Regions from separate parts of the Homo sapiens genome. Here all the other regions are linked to region 1. Evidence: promoter capture Hi-C in human tissues and cell types (Jung and others, 2019). All regions are on one chromosome and are shown on one strand. The core of a region is centred on a gene start or on the middle of the fragment in contact, and the rest is flanking DNA. Distances in the headings are between cores, read along the strand shown. Region 1 holds the start of PLK1 (polo like kinase 1). Region 2 overlaps TNRC6A (trinucleotide repeat containing adaptor 6A). Region 3 holds the start of LCMT1-AS2 (LCMT1 antisense RNA 2).

Evidence for each region. The method cuts DNA at HindIII sites, captures the fragments that hold promoters and counts their contacts. A contact is called where the count stands out against the background at its distance.
Region 2: a contact is called between a fragment that was not itself captured here and the fragment with the promoter of PLK1 in region 1, in 1 of the 25 tissues and cell types used here (dorsolateral prefrontal cortex).
Region 3: a contact is called between a fragment that was not itself captured here and the fragment with the promoter of PLK1 in region 1, in 1 of the 25 tissues and cell types used here (lymphoblastoid cells).

The regions. Positions count from the first base shown.
Region 1 is chr16:23,677,451-23,680,882 of GRCh38, reverse strand. It overlaps PLK1 (polo like kinase 1), which reads right to left and starts at 1,994. Exons shown (of 10, transcript NM_005030.6): 1 at 1,543-1,994; 2 at 631-799. The coding sequence starts at 1,950. It overlaps DCTN5 (dynactin subunit 5), which reads right to left. Exons shown (of 6, transcript NM_032486.4): 6 at 3,411-3,432. The HindIII fragment of the contact is 4,791 bases long and covers 1,358-3,432 here.
Region 2 is chr16:24,746,164-24,749,598 of GRCh38, reverse strand. The region is part of intron 2 of TNRC6A (trinucleotide repeat containing adaptor 6A); the gene reads right to left. Among named protein-coding and RNA genes, the nearest start is that of TNRC6A, 18 kb to the right of the region's middle. The HindIII fragment of the contact is 3,228 bases long and covers 417-3,435 here.
Region 3 is chr16:25,145,914-25,149,386 of GRCh38, reverse strand. All of the region lies in intron 4 of LCMT1 (leucine carboxyl methyltransferase 1), which reads right to left. LCMT1-AS2 (LCMT1 antisense RNA 2) reads left to right here and starts at 355. Exons shown (of 3, transcript NR_039998.1): 1 at 355-681; 2 at 1,148-3,139. The HindIII fragment of the contact is 4,005 bases long and covers 1-3,421 here.

The DNA.
Region 1 (3,432 bases), core at 745-3,244:
GATGCCAGCCTCTGACATCTGTCAATGCAGAAGGCTAGTTAAGGTTTGACCATCCAGAACCAGGGCCATCTGATCCCACAAGCCTCTGCTCCTTGTATGTAGCAAGGCTTGCCCAGGAATCTTCCTCCCATGCTGACACCAGGGAGGTGCCTCCAGTGACACTTCTCACCCCTCCTTTTAGAAAGGGGCTATGCTTTGAAACAGGAACTGACAGGGATAGTAAAACTCCAATGCCTTCAAGGATCAAGCAAGTTAACCTCCAAGACTTGGCAAGTCTGTGAAGAATAGGGAGGAGTAGAGACTGTGGCAAAGAAGTCTGAAGGGGACAGCTGTTTTCCAGCCCAGCAAAGGGCTGCCCTAAGAAAATGCTGTCCTCGTATTACTGAAGCTTTCACCTGTTTAAAAGGAGTTCTGAATCAAACTTTTTGTTCAATCAAACCTTCCAATTTAAAAAATAAAAACAAATTCAAATTCTTTGTAAAAAAAAAATATTGCATTGGGGCACAAAAAAATAATGCATCTGTAGGCAAGATACTGACTTGTGGGTTGTCTCCTTCCTTTCTCCCAGCCTCCTCCAAATTCCAGCCTCTTGTAGTGATGTCAAGCACCCCTGCAGGCTCAGCAACTCACCTATTTTCACCTCCAGATCTTCATTCAGGAAAAGGTTGCCCAGCTTGAGGTCTCGATGAATAACTCGGTTTCGGTGCAGGTACTGGCAGCCAAGCACAATTTGCCGTAGGTAGTATCGGGCCTCAGGCTCAGTCAGGGCTTTCCTCCTCTTGTGCAGCTCCAGGAGAGACTGTGGGTGGGAAGGAGAGGGCAGGAGGGATGGGGAGGTGGATTGAGGCCGGTGGGGAAGGGAGAGGGTTACCAGGCAAAGGAAGCACAGGACTGGACTCTGGACTCCCAAGGGATGAAAGAGGGGTCTTGGTGGGTTTCTCTCCTTCCCTATGCCCCCACCCCATTCCTTCTCCAGCACAGCGGCATCTGGACCCTGCCTTAACACTGTCCACAACCATTCGCAGCACCCCTTCTCCTACTAGCTTCCCCCCTTACCTGGGGGTCCTCTCTCAGCCCCACTCCGGAAGCTCCGAGTCCCCAGCACCAGATCCCTTTCCTGACTCGTATCTCCCCCGGAAGGCCCGAAGTCTGGCTCCAACTACCCCCCCACTGACCCAGCTCCACCCCAGAAGCTCCCAGGGCGCGGCATCACTAACCTGGGACTCCTCCCTGGGTACTCCAGGGCCCTAGCGTCCATTACCAGCACCCCTCCCCCCAGCACCTCGCGTCCAGAAGCTGACTTCCCTATCAGCAACATGACTCAGACTCCACTTCACTGGAACCCCCTCCTCTAGCAGCTCCCAGAGCCAAGAAGCCCTTACCAAAGACACTTTCCATACGTAAGCGGGAGGCTCCCAGCACCCTTCTCTAGCAGCTCCAAGTCCCAGGCTCTCCCTTGCTGGGTACTCTTTCCAGCAGCTCCAGGTCTGGGCGCTCCAACTGCCCCGCAGGCAGTTCCAGTTCCCCAGCAGCGACACTCACCCTCCGGCGGCAGAGCTCCAACACCACGAACACGAAGTCGTTGTCCTCGAAAAAGCCGTGGAATCCTACGACGTGCTGGTGGGCGAGGCTGCGGTGAATGGATATTTCCATGGACATCTTCTCCCTCTGGTGCGGCTTGAGCAGCAGAGACTTAGGCACAATCTTGCCCGCGAACACCTCCTTGGTGTCCGCGTCCGAGATCTCGAAGCACTTGGCAAAGCCGCCCTTGCCCAAAAAGCGGCCCCGCACATAGCGCCGCCGGCTGCGTGGGTCCACTAGGACCTCCGGGATCTCTTTCGCCGGTGGAGCCGCCGCCGGAGCTCCGGGAGCTGCAACTCCGGGGACCCCGGCTTTCCCAGGGTCGGCCGGTGCCCGTGCCAGCTTCCCTGCAGTCACTGCAGCACTCATGCTCCCGAAGCTGCGCTGCAGACCTCGATCCGAGCAGAGCCTCCGCACCGCTCCGCTCCTCCCCGAATTCAAACGCGGCGCTGGGAACGTTACAAAAGCCTGCGCGCCACTGATTGGCCGCGGGGATTTAAAATCCAAACCCGCCCGCCGCGCGGCACCATGGGAGCGCCCTGCGCAGCAGCAGCCTTTAAACCCGGACCCAGCCGGGGAAAACCTGATTGACACGGACGCCCGAACACGTGGGATAGCCTGGGAAACCAAACCCGGCGTGGATGCGGAGACCCAGCCCCGAGAGAGGAGGAATTCCTTCGGGGTTTCTCCCTTTCTCGGGCGTCCGGGAAAGCTCCTGCGGTTCACTTGCGCCTCCTCCAGGAAGCTTTTACTTAAATCTTCCTCTACCTCGGGGCCAGGGAACAGTAGCATCGCCATCACCTGAGAGCTTGTTAGAACCGCAAAGGCAAACGTTCAGGCCCTACCCCAGACCTCCCGAGTCAGTGTCCGCCTCTCAACAAGACTGCTCAGGTGATTCCTACACATCCTGAAGTTGGAGAAGCACAGTACCAGAGCCCCCCATGATGCAACGAAGCTGTCTGGCCTCCTCGCTACTGAATTTCCCAGGGCCTAAAATAGTGGACACTCAGTTTCTTGGTCAGAGGGAGGGAAGGTTGGAAGAATGCCTAGCAAACTGGCAGGTCATAGCCAAATGTGTCTTGCGGGGTTTTGTTTGGCCTCCCCCCACGCCTTTTTTTTGTGTGTGTGACGGAATCTTGCTCTGTCGCCCAGGCTGGAGTGCAGTGGCACGATCTCAGCTCACTGCAACCTCTGCTTCCCGGGTTCAAGCAATCCTCCCGCCTCGGCCTCCCTAGCAGCTGGAATTACAAGCATGCACCACCATGCCCGGCTAATTTTTGTAATTTTAGTAGAGAAGAGGTTTCACCATGTTGGCCAGGCTGGTCTTGAACTCCTGACCTCAAGTGATCTGCCCCTCGGCCTCCCAAATGCTGGGATTACAGGCGTGAGCCACCGCGCCCCGCCATTGTAAAACATTTACAGCATTTAAAAGAGGAGCTCATAAAAGTTGGGATTTGTGGCCTTTCCTGAAAAAAATCAGCTCTAGCTACTTACTCTGTGCCTACATGCTTTCAGTTTGCCACAGTTTACAGCTACACCCGTTTGTTCTGTAGGTACTTGAGTGGCAACCCTGGAACAGTAAAATACCCACGTTAAAAGCTCTTTCTCTGTGCCTCCTTAGCACCCTCTGATCCTTCATAGAGCCCAGCAAAAATCAACCATACTATAAGCATCCTTCACCTGCCTTGCAGCTAAGCTGAAGGACAATGAGGACAATGATGCCGTCCTTTCTACCCCATGTCCCAAGCTCCCAGAGCAGTGCTTGGTAAAAAAAAAAGGGTACTTACTAAAATGTTGGCTGAATAAAAGGAAGACTTTGAAAAATTAAGTTATTTTGTACCCCTATAGTGT
Region 2 (3,435 bases), core at 781-3,280, 1.1 Mb before region 1:
TTCTGGTGGAGCTCTAGAGAGGGTTCCAGAAGACCAGAGCAAGAGAGCATGAAGCAAAAAGACTGCCTAAGGAATAGAAAAGCCATAGCTACTCAACCCCACCCACTTCCCATCCAGATGCCTACACAGCCACAGATAGTAGCTGCTTCTAAATGCAGCCTCAAGCCAAAGAAATACTCTCTAAAGAAACAAAACCTTCCACAGGAGTCTGATAGGTGCTTGAATGGGTTTGGTTGTCCCAGAACAAAGCCCATCTTACTGGAGGCTGCTGCCACTCCCTCCATCACACTGTAAAGTAAAGCTTGCCAATCAACACCCTTCACACAGATCAGCCTTCCCATTCAGGGAAGGAGTCTACTGGGCAAAAAAAACCTTTGCAAAGGCGGAAGAAACTCACTCCGGCTACCTGTAGTCATCACCCTAAAGTCTAGACCCTAAACCTTCATTCATAATACCAACAACCAAAATAACCAGTTACCCAAAGAAAAGCATCACACAAAATGAAAATACCTAACTCTGCCCTGAGGAAGCTTTCCAGAGGGGACACTAAGAATATCAGGCAGGGGCGTGGTGGCGGGCACCTGTAGTCCCAGCTACTCGGGAGGCTGAGGCAGGAGAATGGCGTGAAACTGGGAGGTGGAGCTTGCAGTGAGCTGAGATGGCACCACTGCATTCCAGCCTGGGCGACAGAGCAAGACTCTGTTTCAAAAAAAAGGAATATCAGGCAGAAAAAGAGAGATTTGGAGATATGAACTAGACATTTTGGAAGCTGCACATTATTTATCAAGGCTGGAATGCATATGGCAGTAGGGATGTTGAAGAAGATAAAAGGAGAAAGACAAGTGCCTAAGAAACTGGAAGGGGTTGTTGCTATAGGTGCGCTGCAATGAGATTAAACAAAATTTAAGTTGGCTTTGCTGATGGAACAGACTGAGAGGAGATGCAGACACCGAAAAATGAAATGAATGACATTATGCACAATTGATAAAAACTTAGTAAAGTATAGGACTACTAAAATCAGCTAAAAGGATAACTGGAAGAAGAGTATGATAACTGTTGCTATACTTCGCTGTCATTTTGTTACAAGCAGAAGTGTCATGTGGCTAATGGAGTAACATAACAGATTCCTGCCAACTGTGGCCATGACTCACTCTCTTTTGAATTCTGTGTGCAGGAGGTAGTAAGACTGAACAAGCTCACTCACACTACAATCCCAGGGAAGTCAAGGAGCAAGAAAGCCACAGCATATGAGAGCAGCAGAGTAAAATCAGTAAACAACGGCAACTAGGTTACACCACTGTCATGTTACCTACCCTGAGACATGCAGAAGTCAAGATTAAAAGCTGATTACTAGTTAAAAATACTTAATCTTCTTCAGCCTCTGTTTCTTCATGAAAAAACTGGGGGCAAATGACCATACATGTCAATGTCTTAATATTTTTATAAGAATTAGGACTGCTTACTTAGCACAAAGCTTATCTAGTAAGCACTCAATTGCCTAGCCATGAATCCAACTCACCAGTCCTCAGTGGCACCCAAAAGGCTGTCTTTACCCTTCTTGTGTCAAAATAGCACAGGTACTTATTCAGAAACATCTAGCACCTTCAGCATTTGTTCTTCATGTTCTGCTGTGAATTACAGACATGTCCTTTTCTGATCTTCTATGTCACTATAATTTTACTCCATGTAATGGTCTCTATCTGGAGTATTTTCTCCTTTCTCAAACTTCATTTTCAAGACTTTCTGATGAGGTTACTAGCAAGTGTTTTCCTGGCCAAAAATATCCCCTTTAGTACTTAAAAGATGTACCAGACATTTCTTCTCAAGGAAATATCACAGTATCAGCCGATACTGTAAGCACAGAGGGGAGTAAGTTTTGTTCTTCAACACTATCATCACAGCCAACCAGTCATGCTTTTTCCCATATCTCCTCCTTCAGAGAAAGCCAACTGGAAAAACAACAACAACACCTGTGCCCAAACACGTCAGCTTCCAGGAGTTAAATGTTCATAGAGACTCACTTAAGACATCTGACTATATCATTTACCACAACTATCAAGAGGAGCAAGGACTGATGGATTTGAAAGGCCTAAGTGGGCCACCCTGTTTGATGCACCTGCCACCAAGACAACACTCCAGTTAGCAATCATCCATGCCCTGAAGGCTACTTTGCAGGATACCTCACATCTGTAAGTTCTATGAATCTACCTCGTTGTCTGTAAAAACCAGACTCCCCTTTTATCAGAACTTGACTTATGTCCTGCATCTCATGTATAAAGGCTTTGAGGTGGCCTGTAAAAGTCAATGCCACTGAGGGAACTTTCTAGGAAAATGGAAATGTTTTCTAACTTGATTGGAGTGATAATTACAAGGGTGTATACATTTGTCAAATCATTCACCTACACACTCAATGTTTGAATTTTACTGTATGTAAATTGTATTTTAAAGTTGGTTTCATACATTGACTAGGGGAAATGCAATATCTCGATCTGAAAAAACAAATAGATCAAGATTAGGATTCCACACAACAAATCAAGCTAAGCTTCAAATTTTGCCCGTATCTTCCAGTAGCCACTACAAATGATTTACTTGTACCGTTCAAGAATGCGTTTCTGGCCGGGTATGGTGGCTCAGGCCTGTAATCCCAGGAGTCTGGGAGGCCAGGAGTTTGAGAACAGAATGGGCAACATAGTGAGAGTCTGTCTCTATTTCAAGGGCCTATCAAGGGAGCAGGGTACACCTTGGAGGTAGAATGCCCCTTCCTACTCTTGCGCCTCCTGACACTTGATGGTCAATTTTTCCTACATTCCCAGCCCTGAATATCATTAAAATTAATCCCTTCTGAAGGGTACTCTTGTACTTGCTATCAGAAGTATGTATGGACTAGCACTAAGCTTCTGGTGAGCAATTTGGAAGTATCTATTCACAATGAATTTTTAAATGTCACTATCTTATGATCCATCAATTCAAATCTAAGCCTCTGAAAAAGGAACCGTACAAAGATAGACACCGCAGCATAAAATCATAACCAAAAACCAATCAATAGGGAAAAGTTAAATCATCCTGTAATCACACCAAGGAATACTACACAGTAATTTTAAAGTGGGGCGGGGAGTAGATTTCCATAGTGTACAGAACCAGCTCCCAATAGAAACCTCAAGCACTAAACTTCTTATTTATTTATTTAGAGACGAAGTCTCACTCAGTTGCCCCGAGCTGGAATGAGGTGGTGCTGGTGTCAAACTCCTGGGCTCAAGCAATCCTCCTACCTCGGCCTACCAAAGTACTGGGATTACAGGGGTGAGCCACTGCACTCAGCTAGGAAACATGATTTTTTTTATAGGAAAAAAATTCCTACAATTTTGTAGAAACAACTGAACACATCTGAAATAAGAAAACAAGCAAACATTTGGTACAGGTTGTAAACAAGATTAG
Region 3 (3,473 bases), core at 170-2,669, 1.5 Mb before region 1:
GTGTCTCATCCCAGGAAGGAACACTGAACAACTGATTTACAGCAGGGGTGTCCAATCTTTTGGCTTCCCTGGACCACACTGAAGAACTGTCTTGGGCCACACAAAATACACTAACAATAGCTGATGAGCTTTAAAAAAAATAAGTCACAAAAGAATCTCATGTTTTAAGAAATGTTACGAATTTGTGTTGGGCCACATTCAAAGCAGTCCTGGGCTGCATGTCGCCCCGCCCGCAGGCCTGGGGTTGAACAAGCTTGATTACAGCCTTGTTGCCTCTGGCCAGCCCACCAGGTGGTCCATTAACCAAGATAACCATCAGCCACTAGATATGCTGACCCGCATTCCCTACCCCTCACATGCTTTGCCCAGCTCAGCCTACATGCCCTCTCCCGATGTCAGTTACCAGGCTTTGCTAATAAAACGTCTCTCCCGGCTCTTCCAGAGAGCCAGCCGCAGAGTCTCTGCCGTCTCCCCGTGCGCTCAAGCACAAGCCCCCAACTAAAAGCCTTGTCTGGAAAATCTGCTTGGTGCCATAACAGATTATCTGGTGAGCCAGGTAGGAGCACAAGGAGTAATTTCCCTCCCTGCAGGGGAGGCTTGTGAGCCTGCGAGCCGGAGGGAGGCCCCACTGATTCAGCGCTGCCACCGCGACTGGCGAGTTTTCCTCTAGTCTCGCGACTGGTAAGTTTTCCTCTGGTCTCTGCAAGACTCCTCACCACTCCTGCCCCAGACAATGTTTTCCCTTCCCTCGCGTCCCCTATTTGTTGTCTTTTTCCTTCTTCCTTTCTGCTTTCCTTCCTTCACTTTTAACTTCATTGGCTCGAACTGAACAGACACCCGTGCAGGACGGACTGACACGGCTGGAAGGAACTACTGGGTGCCCTGGCTTCAGACCCAATAGTTGACAATCTTCAAGTCTTTCAGTGCTTTCCCTCCCTTTGCCACACCTGTTGGGAAGGGAAGCCTGTGAGCTTTTCTCTGTCTGTTCAGTGTTTGAGCCTACGGACTCTGGGTGCTGCCTTTATGCGGGGAGAATTGACGGCACATGGGGCTGGAGTTTGCCTAGCTCATGCCCTGATCTGTTTTTCCTTTTTGTATGTTTAATTCAACATCTTATTGACTGTCATTCGGTTACTACCAAATGCAGGACACTGGTCAGTAGAACCTGGACCTGCTGTAAGGCTGAAGAAGAAAAAGAAACCATCCAAGCTGGCACTCGGTTTTGGGGAGTTCTCTTCACTGCTCACGCCGGCCCTCTTGTGTGACCTGTACTGTTGTGCTGTGTGGGGCTGGGAGCCAACTCTCTTTTCGTCGCCTGACACCTGTGCTTGCACCCTGCCCCTGGTCCTTTAATAAGACAAGCAGACACAGGGGCTACAGTCATGGGCAATGCCCCAGGCATCTTCCAAGACTCACACCTGGGATGTATCATTTCTAAATGGAAGGAATCCAAATCAGATGGTTTAAAGAAAAAGAAACTCCAGCCTGGGAAACATAGGAAGACTCCACCTCTACAAAAAACAGGAAAAATGAGCCGGGTGTGGGGGTGCCTTCCTGGGGTCTCAGCTACTCAGAAGGCTAAAGTGAGGATCGCTTAAGTCCAGGAGGTTGAGGCTGCAGTGAGTTGTGGTAATACCATAGCACTCCAACCTGGGCAATGGAGTGAGACCCTGCCTCAAAATCAAATTTTTTTTTTAATTAAAAAAAAAGAAACTGATTTTCCTCTGTAATACAACCTGCCCTAGTACACATTAGATCAAGAAAAATGGCCATGGGCAGAAGTGGATCTCCTAGTTTTAACACTATCTTACCGCCCGACCTATTCTGTGAATGGACAGAGAAATGGGGAGAGATACCTAGCTACAAGCTTTTATGAAGTTATGCTAGGACCCAGAGCTACTGGATTCTTGTCAGGTGTGTGTGGCCCCTATTTCCAGGTTCCTCCTGAAGGAACCTGAAGAAGCGGACCTCCACAGCCTCAGGCCCCGAGCACTCCCTCCCTACCCTAAGCAGGCCTCCTGGGGAGGGGAGCCCCTGTGCTGTCCCCAACAGCGCTCCAATCGGACTCCAAACAGGCACCCTCTTTTGCTTCCCCACTGGCCCAGGGCTGTTTTCCCCTCAGAGAAATGGATGGAAACGGGGGAGTGACAAGGATCCAAGTTCCTTTTTTTGGTGGTGGATCTAGGACTATGTAAAAAACACTTTGGTAGATTTTCAGAGGATCCTGGTAAGTTTAGAGATGAATTTGTTAAACTAAATCTTGCCTTTTCATTGACGTGGCAGGATGTTATGGTCACTTTGCAGTACTGATGAAAAGCAACACATATTTGGAAAGGCTAAGGAATATGCCAATAGCCAGGTGGTCACTAAAGACCAATATGCAGTCATCTGTTTAGGGGGAGATGCGGTCCCAGGCATAGTCTCCACGTGAGTGAGACTATGGAGAAAACCTAGAAAAAGCTAGAATGAGCCACTTTGTCACCTGCCTGACTGAAGGAAGAAGGAAATGTATAGTAAAACCTGTACACTATGACAGGGTCAAGAAAATTACCCAGAGAAAGAAGGAGATCCCAGTAGTCTTCCTCAATCGAGTCCCTGAGGCCCTTGGGAAATGCACCCATGCAGACCCAGAGGCAGCAGAGGGGAAGCATCGCGTGCCATGCATTTTATCCTTCAGTCAGCTCCGGACATTAGAAGGAAATTACAGAAAATTTGGAGGCCAGACCCCAGACCCTGCTGTTGACTTTGGCAGAGGCGGCTTTTAAGGTTTTCAATAACGGACAGGACACAGATGGCAGGTAAGAAGAGGAGACTGACCAAGACAGCACAGCTTCTGGCTGCCCTAATTCATCCACCATCTCAGGGTGACCCTAGGATTCTCAGGAGACCAACTAATCGAAGACAGCCAACCTTGGATGGAGCCAATGTGCCTACTGCAGGATGGAGGGGGTCACTGGAAGAGAGGCTGCCCTGACCTCCTTAAAACAGGACAGCCGGCAGGCAACCCTGGCCAGCCGCCACTCCTCACCAAGCTTTCAGATGAGATTGATACACACCGCCTGACAGCACCCTGGCTCTGACTGCAGCACACTCCATCGTCATCACACCACGGAGCCTCAGGTCACCCTTGATGTGGCAGGTAGGAAAACAGTTCCTCGTGGACAGCAGAGCTGCCTGCTCGGTCCTGACCCAGCCTATTTGCCTCCTCTCCAATTGCAATTGCAGGGTAATGGGAATAGACAGGTGTCCTAAGGTAAGAAAATTTACTTTCCCTCTTGCTTGTGAGGCCATGTCTAGGCTTTTTTCTCCTCATTTCTGTATGCCCCCCGGAATGTCCTACTCCATTGCTGGGTAGAGACTTATTAAGCAAAATGGGAGCCACCATCTCCCTGGAAGAGGACAGACTGCAGGTAGAGGCAGAGCCAGAACAGGGAATCCACCTGCTAGCACTCTTAAATGGACAGGAACTTGAG